4 separate regions of the Homo sapiens genome follow, and all the other regions are linked to region 3. The links are contacts of gene promoters, found by promoter capture Hi-C in blood cells and fetal thymus (Javierre and others, 2016). All regions are on one chromosome and are shown on one strand. The core of a region is centred on a gene start or on the middle of the fragment in contact, and the rest is flanking DNA. Distances in the headings are between cores, read along the strand shown. Region 1 overlaps UIMC1 (ubiquitin interaction motif containing 1). Region 2 has its middle 4.2 kb from the start of HK3. Region 3 holds the start of UNC5A (unc-5 netrin receptor A). Region 4 has its middle 28 kb from the start of LINC01574.

Region 1 (2,700 bases), core at 38-2,537, 110 kb before region 3:
TATAGCTTAATCTTTAACAGCTGAAATTTTTGTTTAAGCAATTTGATAATATATACGTAGAACTTAAAAGTAATTCATATCTTCTGACCCATGAATTAAAGTTTGAAAATCTACTCTAAAAACGTCATCAGAATTTAGATGAAATTGTATAGACAAAGATGGTTTATCAAAGCATTATTTATAACAATGAACAACTTAACCCAATGTTCAAAAACAAGACGAAGTATTATATAAGGATTCAAAATAAAGACTGAAAGAAAATACAGTATTCTGAAATATTAACCATAATTTGGAGGAGACTAAAAGCAGAGAGACAGATGATAAAGCAGTGTTAGTAGAAGTGGACGGACTTGAGAATCTTTTGGTGAGAGAAGCAAACCTTGTGACTGGTCAAGATGAGAGAAGGCAATCTTAACTCAGGTTTCTGGCTAAGCCAATTGTAGGGTACTCAACTTAGAAAGCCCCTCTGAGTAATTCAGAAGATCACTGTGTTGTTTAACTATTGCTTGTACTTCCTTACTGACAACCCAGTTGGTATTTATTTAGCAGCAACTATAACGCAGATACTGTTCTGCAAGCTGAGGGTACAGTACTAAACACAAGTCAGTGTTCTTATAAAGCTTACCTTTTTGTGAGGGAAACAGATAATAAATACAATTTAAGAAAAACAAGGCAAGAAGAGGGGATGGAGAGTGACTAGAACAGAGGAAAAAGGGGGCTCGATTAAAGAGAAAGATCAAGGGAGACTTCTTGAGGTGATATTTGAATAGAGTCATTCTAGGTCAGGGAATAAATACAAAGGCCCTAAAGCAAGAGTGTGTTTGGCATGTTTCTTAGAGCTGCAGGAAAGACACAATGACTGAATTAGATTGAGCGACAGGGGGAAAGGAGAGAAGAAATAAACAGTGGTCAGATCATGTGAGGTGAGGTTTTTGTACTTCATTCCAAATATGATGAAAAGCCATAGGGGGGTTGAGAACGAGGGAATGATGTAATCTAACTCTGGCTACAATGTGGAAAATAATCTATAGAGGGATGGGGCAAAAATGGAATTGAGGAGACTAAGCAGGGGTGGAGGGGAGTGGCTGTTGCATTATTCCAGGGAAGATCTGATGTTTGCTTTGACCATAGAGGTAGCTGTGAGGTAAAGAAGTTGTCAGATTTGGGAATGTTTTGAAGGTTGAACCTACAGGATTTATTGGAGTGTGAGAGAACAAGAAAGACTAAGGTGAAATCAAGGTTTTGCCCCAAGCAACTGGGTTAATGATGACTTCGTTGTTTGAGAGCGGGAACACTGGGGCAGGAACAGGTTTGGAGGAAGAAATTAAGAATTTGGTTTTGTACATAATTTTAAGATGCCCAGTGAATAACCAAATGAAGATGTTGAGCAGACAGCAGGATATACAAGTCTAGAAATAACCTTATGGGAAATATTACTGCATATTTGTATGCTGATGGAATGATCTAAAAAAAGAGGGAAAAATTGATGTTTCAGGAGAGATGATGGCAGGAGGGGAATCCTTAATTAAGCAAGAAGCGTTCAGATTCAGGATCAAATGGAAAAGTGAGCCTTAGATAGCCGTGTGGGCAATTCATTCTGTGCAATAGGAGGGAAGGCAGAGGATATGGGTACAGATGCAGATAGACTAATACTTTTGGTGGTGGAAGAGTGTAGAAGTTCTCTCAAGTACTACTTTTTTCTCATCAAAAAAGTCTGAAAGGTTGGTTTAACATTAGAAAATCAGTTAATATACTGTATCATAGAACAAAGGACAAAAACCACACGATATCTAAATGGACACAGAAAAAGCATTTGAGAGAATTCAATACTCCTTCATGACAATAAAATACTCAGCAAACTAGGAATAGACAGGAACTTCCTCAGCCTGATAGAGGGCGTCTATGAAAAACTCACAGCTAATATCATACTTAATGGTGAAAGACTGAAAGCTTTCCCCAAAATCAGAAACAAGACAAGGATGTTCATTCTTGCCACTTCCATTCAACGTGGTAAAGGAGGTTCTAGCCAGGACAGTTAGGAAAGAGATGAAATAAAAGCCATTCAGGTTGGAAACGAAGAAGTAAACTACTCTATCAGATGACATCTTTTATATAGAAAATCCTAGAGAATCCACTGAAATAAAACAAGCCTTTAGAACTAATAAACGAGTTTAGCAAGTTTGCAGGATACAAGGTCAATATAGAAAATGAACTGTATTTTTGTACACTAGCAGTGAACAATCTGAAAGTGGATTTAAGAAAACAGTTACATTTAATATACTATCAAAAATAATAAAATACTTAGGAATATGTTTGACAAAAGAAATAAAAAACTTCTCTGAGAATTATAAAACATTGTTGAAAGAAATTAAATAAGACCTAAATAAATGGAATGGTATTTCCTGTTCATGGTTTAGAATACTTAATGTTGTGAAGATGGCAGTATTCACCAAGTTGATCTACAGATTTCAAATCCTTTTCAAAATCCCAGCTAGGCTGGGCATGGTGGCTCACGCCTGTAATCCCAGCACTTTGGGAGGCTGAGGTGGGCGGATCACCTGAGGTCAGGAGTTCGAGACTAGCCTTACCAATGTGGAGAAACTCCGTCTCTACTAAAAATACAAAAAAAAAAATTAGCCAGGCATGGTGGTGCATGCCTGTAATCCCAGCTACTCAGGAGGCTGAGGCAGGAGAATCACT
Region 2 (2,700 bases), core at 201-2,700, 93 kb before region 3:
CATGTATATATTCACTTAATGTGTACTGCACAATTCCGAACATTGGTTACTCCCTTGACTGTTTCTGACATAATTCTGGGAGGTGCCAGGGGCATTGACTCCCACTACCTATTCTGCTATCCCTACCATTCAGTGACCTGTCCCTTCATCTTGTACTCACACAGTGGAATTCTCAGCCTGAGCATAGAACATTTGAAGGATGTGTCCTGCCATTCTTCCCAGGAATGTGCAAGTGAACACTCTGTTATTAGATGCCTATGCAATTATTTTTTCTAAATAGATTAACCAGTGGGGATGCCAGGCATATTCATCTGTTCAAATCAAGATTGGGTCTCTTGATGCCAAAGGTTAGCAGCAACAGGACATGGCTTCTGTTTTGGTAACATTACTAACATAGCGCACATTCCTCACCGTGTTGCCTAGGAGCTTCCAGTGCAGAACAGAGATGTGGTCTGTTCTCGGTGCATGCCATGTGCAGACTCTGAAGATGAGAGGATGTCAATTGGCAGAAGGAGCTACCTGAAGGAGATGACCAAACAAGGATGTGAAGAATGCTAGTTTTGGCCAAAACTGATTTGAAGTTGTAATGAAAAACTGGGGGAGGTGGCTGTTGACCAGGAAAGGATCTTGGGACAGGATAAACAGGCACACTCAAGACTCTCCTAACTTCTGATTTTGTCCAAAGTTATCTTTTCTTTTAACATGAAAACGAGGTATGTGTTAGACTGGGGAGTTAGCAGATAGCTGGGATGGAAGACAGCACAAACATTAAGGCCTTGTTCCTGCCTAGGTCCCTTTGCACACAACCTTTTGAGTTAGAAGAAGGCAAGATGGCAGTCTCACTGTCTTTTCCTTCCATAGATAATGTCTTGCTGTTGGATGGCACTGACCTAGTGGCTAGCAGCACATAAGAAATAGCTGTTATTTTTTGAGCAACTACTACGGTCCAGGCAATGTATGTGGCCTTCATTTAATCCTCATAGCAACCCTATGGGGTATAGGTATTATCATCTCAATTTCCAGATGAGGAAGCAAAGGCTTAGAGTAACAAATAAGCCACTTTTTGTCCATGGCAGTGGAACCACAGTGCCCCTACTCTTCATTCCTGAAGAAAATGCTATATTTTGACTCCAGTATTGATTATTTTCCTGTTTTTCTTCTAGTGAAAAGTAGTTTATCAGTTATGTCCCATAAGCTTAACTCTCGCTTGTTTTCTCTTTCATTAAATGGCAATTTATTGGAGGTAGCGCTGTATAAACAGGGGACAGTGTGTGTATCTGTTTGCCTGAAGATAAGAAAAGGGAAAGGGTACTTCTGGAAAGTGAATTATTTAGCTTAAAATTGAGCAGTTTCCCTAAAACATGAGTCAGCAGCAGGAGGGTATGGATCAGCCAGACCAGGAACCACAGGCTTAATTATTAGCTAATGGGGAGTCAAGGGAAGAACAGCTACCCACTTCCCCCATCGCCTCCTCACAACCGTCTTGTTTGCCCACAGTCTTATTCTCCCCATGCTGTGATCCTGTGAGAGGAGCATTAGTGAAAGAGTGAAGAGACAAAGTATAAAATGTGTGAGATCAGCCTACATCTGCACCCTGCTTCTGATAAAAGTTAACCTCTCTGAGACCTGGCTTTCTTGTCCATAAAATGGGAAAAGATCATACTAACAGGGTTCTAAGGATTACCATAATGTGGATAAAGCTTTGATCCAGCACAATGTCATCACATAGAAGAATGAGTTAGTGGCAGCAGTTATTAATGTGATGCTAGTCTATGTGTCACAAATGATGTTGCACTGAGGGGTGGAGGGATGGGGGACGGGTGCAGATGCAAGAGGAGATAGTTTTCAGAGGAATGTGTACTCAGGAGGGACTACTCGGGCTCCATCAACCATCAGGCTTCCACAGGAAACTTGGGTCCCAGGCATCTAGAGTTCTCCTAGGGCCCCTGGATTTCTTTTACTTCTGAAAGATGAGAAATAGCTGTTCTGCTGATGCTGCCAACTCACGGAGAGCTGGGAAGCTCCATAAACTTCACAAGCTATTGCCGTAAATTGGAAGAGATAGAGGGGGACTTCTCTTTGTTAGGCGCTGTAGTTGTGCTTTTTCATTTAGTCCTTACAGCAGCCCCAGCAGAGGTTGTGCCTCGCCCATTTCCCCCAGGCATTCGCCATTCTGCTGTATACCCACAGAGTCCTGTTGCAAGTACCTGAGACTCTGCCTGAGGACTTCTCTTGGTTTGTGTTGGCACAAGCTGAGAGTACCAGGGAGTTAGTGCCCCTGGGACAGCTCTCAGCCAGTGGAAGTGGGAGGATAGATACCCCAGCTTCCTCACTCAGTGAGGGACAACTCTAAGGCACATTCTACCTATTTCTCAGGGTTCCCTGTGGGAGTGAACCTCTCTAAGCTCCCAGTAACAATTAACGTACACTTCCTTGGCTTCTTTCTCTTCCTACCTGGCTTCCAGCTCCTCTTCTGTATTTTCCTGATCAGGACTGGGACTAGGGTGATGAGCCTTTATTCTTGGGTTCATCTAAGTGCAAGGTTGGCACCCGTATGAACCTGAGAGGGTCTCTTTACATTCTGTACCCTAGGCATATCATTTGCATTGCCCTGATTCTGGCCCTGTCCTGGATCACTTCCCAAATAAAGTTATTTGCATTCAAATTAGGTCTGCCTCTGGGTTTACCTAACCTAAAGCA
Region 3 (2,700 bases), core at 108-2,607:
TCAATCTGGTTTGGCAGCTCAGAAACCCCAGTGCTCCCTTCCAACACCCCTGTTATAAGCAGCGGCCTGGCCAGGCTGGGGAGTAACCGCCCAGGTTCTAGGGGCAGCAAGAATCGAGAATTGCCAGGGTAAGCCTCAAGCCCCCTTGACCACACAAATGGCACCCACCCCCCACCACCACAGACACATACGCTCAACTCAGCTAAGTGCATGGGGGGCAGAGATCAGGAGGCCCCCACAGCTCAGCCTAGGTGAAGGCTCAGGGACAGCAGACAAAGGATGCAGGGGAACTTCCTCCCCCCAAGCCCCTCCCAAGGGAATGAGGTGGGCTGAGGGCTGAGTTAGCAGTGGGTTAGGGTGACCAATGGGGCATGCAGGGGCCAAGAAAGGCTATGGAGTTTAAGGAAGAAGGGGAAACTGGCGGACCAACCACACACAACTCTGGCCCCCCGCACCAGGGAGGCCAGGAGCCACAGCCCCGGCCACCGGGACCGCGGCGCTTTGACTGTGCTGGCTGCAAGGACTGGGGGCTGGTGTATGCGCCTCCACGCCTGAGTGTGTGCGTGTGAGAGCGTGTGTGGCGGGGACAGAGGAGGACACTGTGTTCTGGACGTGGGCAGAGGCCAGGTGCCAAGCTGGGAGATTGTGAGTGGCTGTTTAGGGCAGATGCTACCGGGAAGAGGTATCTTAAACGTTCCCCGCACCCCCCATTTCCTGGGCACTGGGATAGGCTCAAAACCCTCTAATCTTCGAATCCTCAAAGTCAGGCTCCCTGGGGTTGATCCAAACCCCCAGCCCTGCTCCGGGCCCAGGCAACCAGCAAACTTCCCCCACCCGGAGGCGTGGGGTGTCTACACTCGCCAGCCCCGCGGGCTGACAGCTGCTCCTGGACTTGGCAGAACCCAGGCTTCCGGGAGAGCGCGCGGGGAAGCTGCGCAGCAGCAAGAAGAGCCCCCCGCGTCCCGCCTCGCAAAGTTTGGCCTCGGGGGGCTCCCAGCCGGGTCTGGCAGCGCTGGTCAGGGACCCCCAGAGCAGCGAGCGTTCGCGCGCACGGTCCCCCGCAAGCCTCCCCAGAGCGCGCGCGGCGTGACTCACCCGAGCCGCGGAGCCAAGCGGCGAGGACTATGCCCAGGAGCGCTGGCCACAGGCCGGGCCGGACGGCCATGGCCGCGGGCGGGCAGGCGGGCGGGCCGGGCGCGGGGCCCCGCGGGCGGGAGGGCGGCTTTAGCGCCTCAGCCCGGAGCCCCAGCTCGGGGCGCCCCCGGGGCCCATGCCAGCGGACTGCGCTGCCTCCGGGCGGCCGGCTGCCGGGCGCACGCGGCGCGTGGCTCCCTTGGGCACGGGAGCGCAGCAATGCAGCCGGGGCGGAGCGCAGCGCCAGCCGCGCCGCGCACCGAGCCAGCCGCGCCGCGGAGCCCGCAGCCGGAGAGCGGGCCGGTGGGCGCCGCAAAACCCGGACTGGAGCGACGGAGCGGGGCGGCGGCTGGGAGGGGCGGGGGAAGGAAGGAGGGGCCGGGCCGCCCCGCGCAGCGCGCGCGGGCCACCCCCAGCACCGGGAATCCCTCTGGGCGATGCCTGAGGCTCCCCCAGGGAGGGGCTTGGGGTGGTGGGCGTGGAGGCCTCCCACCGCCCCGCGGGGTCTCCAGGGACAGGGGCAGGAGTCTGAAACCCGGAGTGGATCGGTGCTCCGGATCCGGGCTCTCGCGGGCCCGCCAGTCTGCGCACAGGTGGCCCGGGAGGGGCCCGGGGCTGCGGCGACCCCGGCGCGGCGCCAGCCTGCGGAGAGCCGCCCAGGGCAGGGGTGCCCCGGGCAGGTTCCGCTGCAGTCCTCTCCCCCGCCCTTTCCTCGCGGCCGCGCTCCGGGGTCGTCCGGGCGCCGCGGTACGCTGCCAGCCCGCGGCTTGGTTAGGGGACTGCGGGAGAGCCCCGGGGCCCTGGCCCGCGCGCAGAGGTGCCCTGGCCACCAGAGCTGGCAGGCCAGACTCGGGGACACCCGCAGTCCCAGCCTCGCAGGCTGGTGGATTCCAGGGGCGCGCCTCACACCATGACCCAAGGTTTCCCTAACCCCTCGGCGCCGTTCGCCGAAGGAAAACAACCTTCAGGCGCAGCACACCCGACTGGGCGCGCGGTGTTTGAGCCCCGAGAGCGCACGGCGCCCGCGACGTGGGTGTAAAGGAACGAGCTGGGCTTTGGCAGCTAGGGAGACCGGGGGTAGGGTCCAGGCGACTTCACCTTCCAGCTCTGTGACCTTGGTCAAGTCACGTCGTCTCCTGGAGCCTCCAGCAGTGACCGCTGCTGGAGTCTCCTGTGCCCCACCCCCATTCCCTAATCGGGTTAAAATAAACAGAGGGCTGCCTTGAAGGAGAAAGGAAATGACAGCCGCGTGCGGTGTGCCTGGGGGGAGTGATCGGAAAAAGAGAGGGTCCTAGTCTGGGTCGGGAGGGGAATGAGCAGGGTGAGGGCAGGGTCGCAAACTCAAACGCCTACGGGGCCGGTCGATAATATAAATTGGCGCTGCAGGCTAGGCGATGTAAGGGATGGTCTTGCTTCCACAAAGAGATATGAGCTCTCCTATATTTCTTGAGACACGAGGCCCTCTCTCGGTCTGTCTTTTGTTTCCCACTTTTGATAGAGAAGGGTTATGAAAAATGTTTTGCTTTCCTCTTAAGTCTACTATAAAAAACACCAGCTAAAGCTCCA
Region 4 (2,700 bases), core at 97-2,596, 96 kb after region 3:
TTTGTAGTCTCGTCTACTTGGGGGGCTGAGGCAGGAGAATCACTTGAACCCCGGAGGCAGAGGCTGCAGTGAGCTGAGATTGCGCCACTGCACTCCAGTGTGGGCAACAGAGCGAGACTCCATCTCAAAATAAACAAACAAACAAACAAACAAACAAAAACAAAGAGTAAAAATAACAGTGTAAAGAAAGGGACCATGCAAGGTTATCTCCGAAGAAAATCTTTACAAAGTGTATTAAAAACCTCAGAGAGATAAGAGATGTTACATCCACGAAGAGCTAACAAAATGAACAGTCAGAGAACAGAGAGTTGAAGGAGAGTTCTTGGAAATGAAAAGCACAAATGAATGATTTTTAAAAAAGAAGAACGAAAGGATGGCTTAGAGGGCAAAAGGGAGGAAACCTCCTAGAAAACAGAGCAAGAAGACAAAGAAAAGCAAAATAGGAGGTAAAAGTTAAGAACATTGAAAGATCAATTCAAGAGATTGCACATATGAATAACAGGAGTCAAGAAAGAGAAAACAGAGGGAAAGGACTCATACCCGAAATAACTCAACAACATTTCTCAGAAATGAGGGACACCAGTTTTGGGATTAAAAGGATTCAGTTGCTCACCACAGTGGTTGAAAACACCCACACCAAAGTACATTGCTGCAGAACTTCAAGTTTCCAGAAAAACTAGAAGACAAGAAGTAATGCTTTAAAAATTCTGAAGGAAAATTATCTCCAAACTCAATTCTATACCCAGATAAACTACTTCTCAAATGAGAAGAGAGAAAAATACTTCTGCAGACCTCTTCCCCTCTTTCTTAAGAAGCTACTTGAGCCTGTGGTCCACAAGGGAACAAAGCAAGAAAGCGATGACCATAGACACAGGGAGCCCAACCACGGGGAGAGGGCAGAGGGAGTCTGGGTGATGGTGACAAGCCATCCAGGGTATCTACTGAGTCCCGGGCATAGACTGGAGGCAGTGTGAACATCTGCAACCAAGCCCCAGTGCAGGGCTCCCTGTGTGTAATCCCCTGTCCCTCTGAAGTGGACAGACAGGCATGGTGAAAGTCGGAGGAACCACCCTTCTACCGCCAAGGCCCACAGTGAGGCTGAGTGAGGAGGAACAAAGTACTGCGCTTTCCGAACACCAATGGCTAAGCTGGGCACGGTGGCTCACACCTGTAATCCCAGCACTTTGGGAGGCCAAGGCAGGCGGATCACTTGAGGTCAGGAGTTTGAGACCAGCCTGGCCAATGGGGTGGAACCCCGTCTCTACTAAAAATACAAAAATTAGCCAGGCGTGGTGGCACATGCCTGTAATCCCAGCTACTTGGGAGGCTGAGGAAGGAAAATCACTTGAACCTGGGCAGCAGAGGTTGCAGTGAGCCGAGATCACGCGACTGCACTTCAGCCTGGGTGACAGAGTGTGAGACTGTCTCAATTAAAAAAAAAAAAGCCCACCAAAAATGTGAATGGCTGTGCTGAACCTAGGCCTCTGGCAAGAGGCTTCTCACACCGGCCCCCCGCAGACTATGGTGCAGGAGGAAACACAAATGAAGGATTCTCCTCCATCTGCACCTGCATGTGGGCAGCCTCTCTGGCTGTGCCACTGAGCTTTGGGCAAAAGTGACAGTCTCCCCCTTGTGTAGAGCATAAACACGGGACGCAGGAGCAAATTCCGGAGTGTTCTGGGTGCTCTGGAAAACAGGTGAATGGGGCTGAGAGTGACTATGGTAGGGAGCGTGGGGCAGGCCCCCTAGGGAGGGGCATGTGAGCCGGGGCCTAATGATGAGATGAGTGAGTTGTACGAGGATCCTGGGGCAACGTGTTATAGGCAGGGGGAGCAGCAACTGCAAAGGCCCTGGGGGGGTGGGGGATGAGCTCAACACATGTTGAATGAGAGGAAGGAGGAGATGAGTCAGGAAGGGGTGGGGCAGGGCCTGGATCAACTAGGGCTGTGGGGCTGTGGTGAAGAGGACAGGAGAGTTTTAAGCAGGGGCAGGCCTTGATCTCATTTACCTGTTGTCACCACTAATGTCCTGGGACCAAGGTGCCTAATTGCCTTCCAACACCCCTTTCTCCCTTCTGTCTCACTATAGTCCTGAGCAAGGGGCTCAGCTTAAAGAAAACAAAAAGAAAATAGAACAAAAAAAACCCCCTACATTTTCCAGCCTCTCTTGCAGCTAGGTGTGGTCAGTGCACTGAATTCTGGCCAACGAGACGTAAGCAAATGTGTGTGGGACTTCTGGGCAGACTCCTTGAGAAGGAGGAGCTAGACCCTCTTTGCTCCTCCATTTTTCCCCTTCCAGCCTGACATCATGACTGGAAGCCCAGCAGTCTTTCTGGGCCATGAGGAGACCTTAGGATAGAGGCCACATGCTAGGAAGGGGCAACAGATAAACAGAAGGAGCCTGGGTCTCTGATGCACACAGTGGTCCATGAGCCCTAGACGGCCAACCTCCCAGGCTTGTGTGTGAGAAGAGGTATGCTCTGGAGGGGAAGCTGCCACTTTCAGCTCACCCTGACTACTGAGTCGTCTCCAGGGGCGGCTGAGTTCTTACATCAGACCCTTGGAATCATTGGTAGTTTGGGGGTGTTGGCTTCACCTGCCAGTTCCTCCACCCACATGCAGGCTGTAGGCACCTCAGAGAGGGCTGCTACCCTTGGAATCTCAGAGTGTGAAAGAGAAGAGGCCCTTGCGGGAGGGGAGG

The links. The method cuts DNA at HindIII sites, captures the fragments that hold promoters and counts their contacts. A CHiCAGO score of 5 or more calls a contact.
Region 1: a contact is called between a fragment that was not itself captured here and the fragment with the promoter of UNC5A in region 3, in 1 of 17 cell types (endothelial precursors). The highest score is 6.3, in endothelial precursors.
Region 2: a contact is called between a fragment that was not itself captured here and the fragment with the promoter of UNC5A in region 3, in 1 of 17 cell types (endothelial precursors). The highest score is 6.7, in endothelial precursors.
Region 4: a contact is called between a fragment that was not itself captured here and the fragment with the promoter of UNC5A in region 3, in 1 of 17 cell types (endothelial precursors). The highest score is 5.4, in endothelial precursors.

What each region holds. Positions count from the first base shown.
Region 1 is chr5:176,920,122-176,922,821 of GRCh38, reverse strand. All of the region lies in intron 10 of UIMC1 (ubiquitin interaction motif containing 1), which reads left to right. Among named protein-coding and RNA genes, the nearest start is that of HK3, 22 kb to the right of the region's middle. The HindIII fragment of the contact is 1,330 bases long and covers 623-1,952 here.
Region 2 is chr5:176,902,191-176,904,890 of GRCh38, reverse strand. No RefSeq gene overlaps it. Among named protein-coding and RNA genes, the nearest start is that of HK3, 4.2 kb to the right of the region's middle. The HindIII fragment of the contact is 505 bases long and covers 1,198-1,702 here.
Region 3 is chr5:176,809,216-176,811,915 of GRCh38, reverse strand. It overlaps UNC5A (unc-5 netrin receptor A), which reads right to left and starts at 1,357. Exons shown (of 15, transcript NM_133369.3): 1 at 1,096-1,357. The coding sequence starts at 1,165. The HindIII fragment of the contact is 10,823 bases long and covers 1-2,700 here.
Region 4 is chr5:176,713,466-176,716,165 of GRCh38, reverse strand. No RefSeq gene overlaps it. Among named protein-coding and RNA genes, the nearest start is that of LINC01574, 28 kb to the left of the region's middle. The HindIII fragment of the contact is 3,923 bases long and covers 1-2,700 here.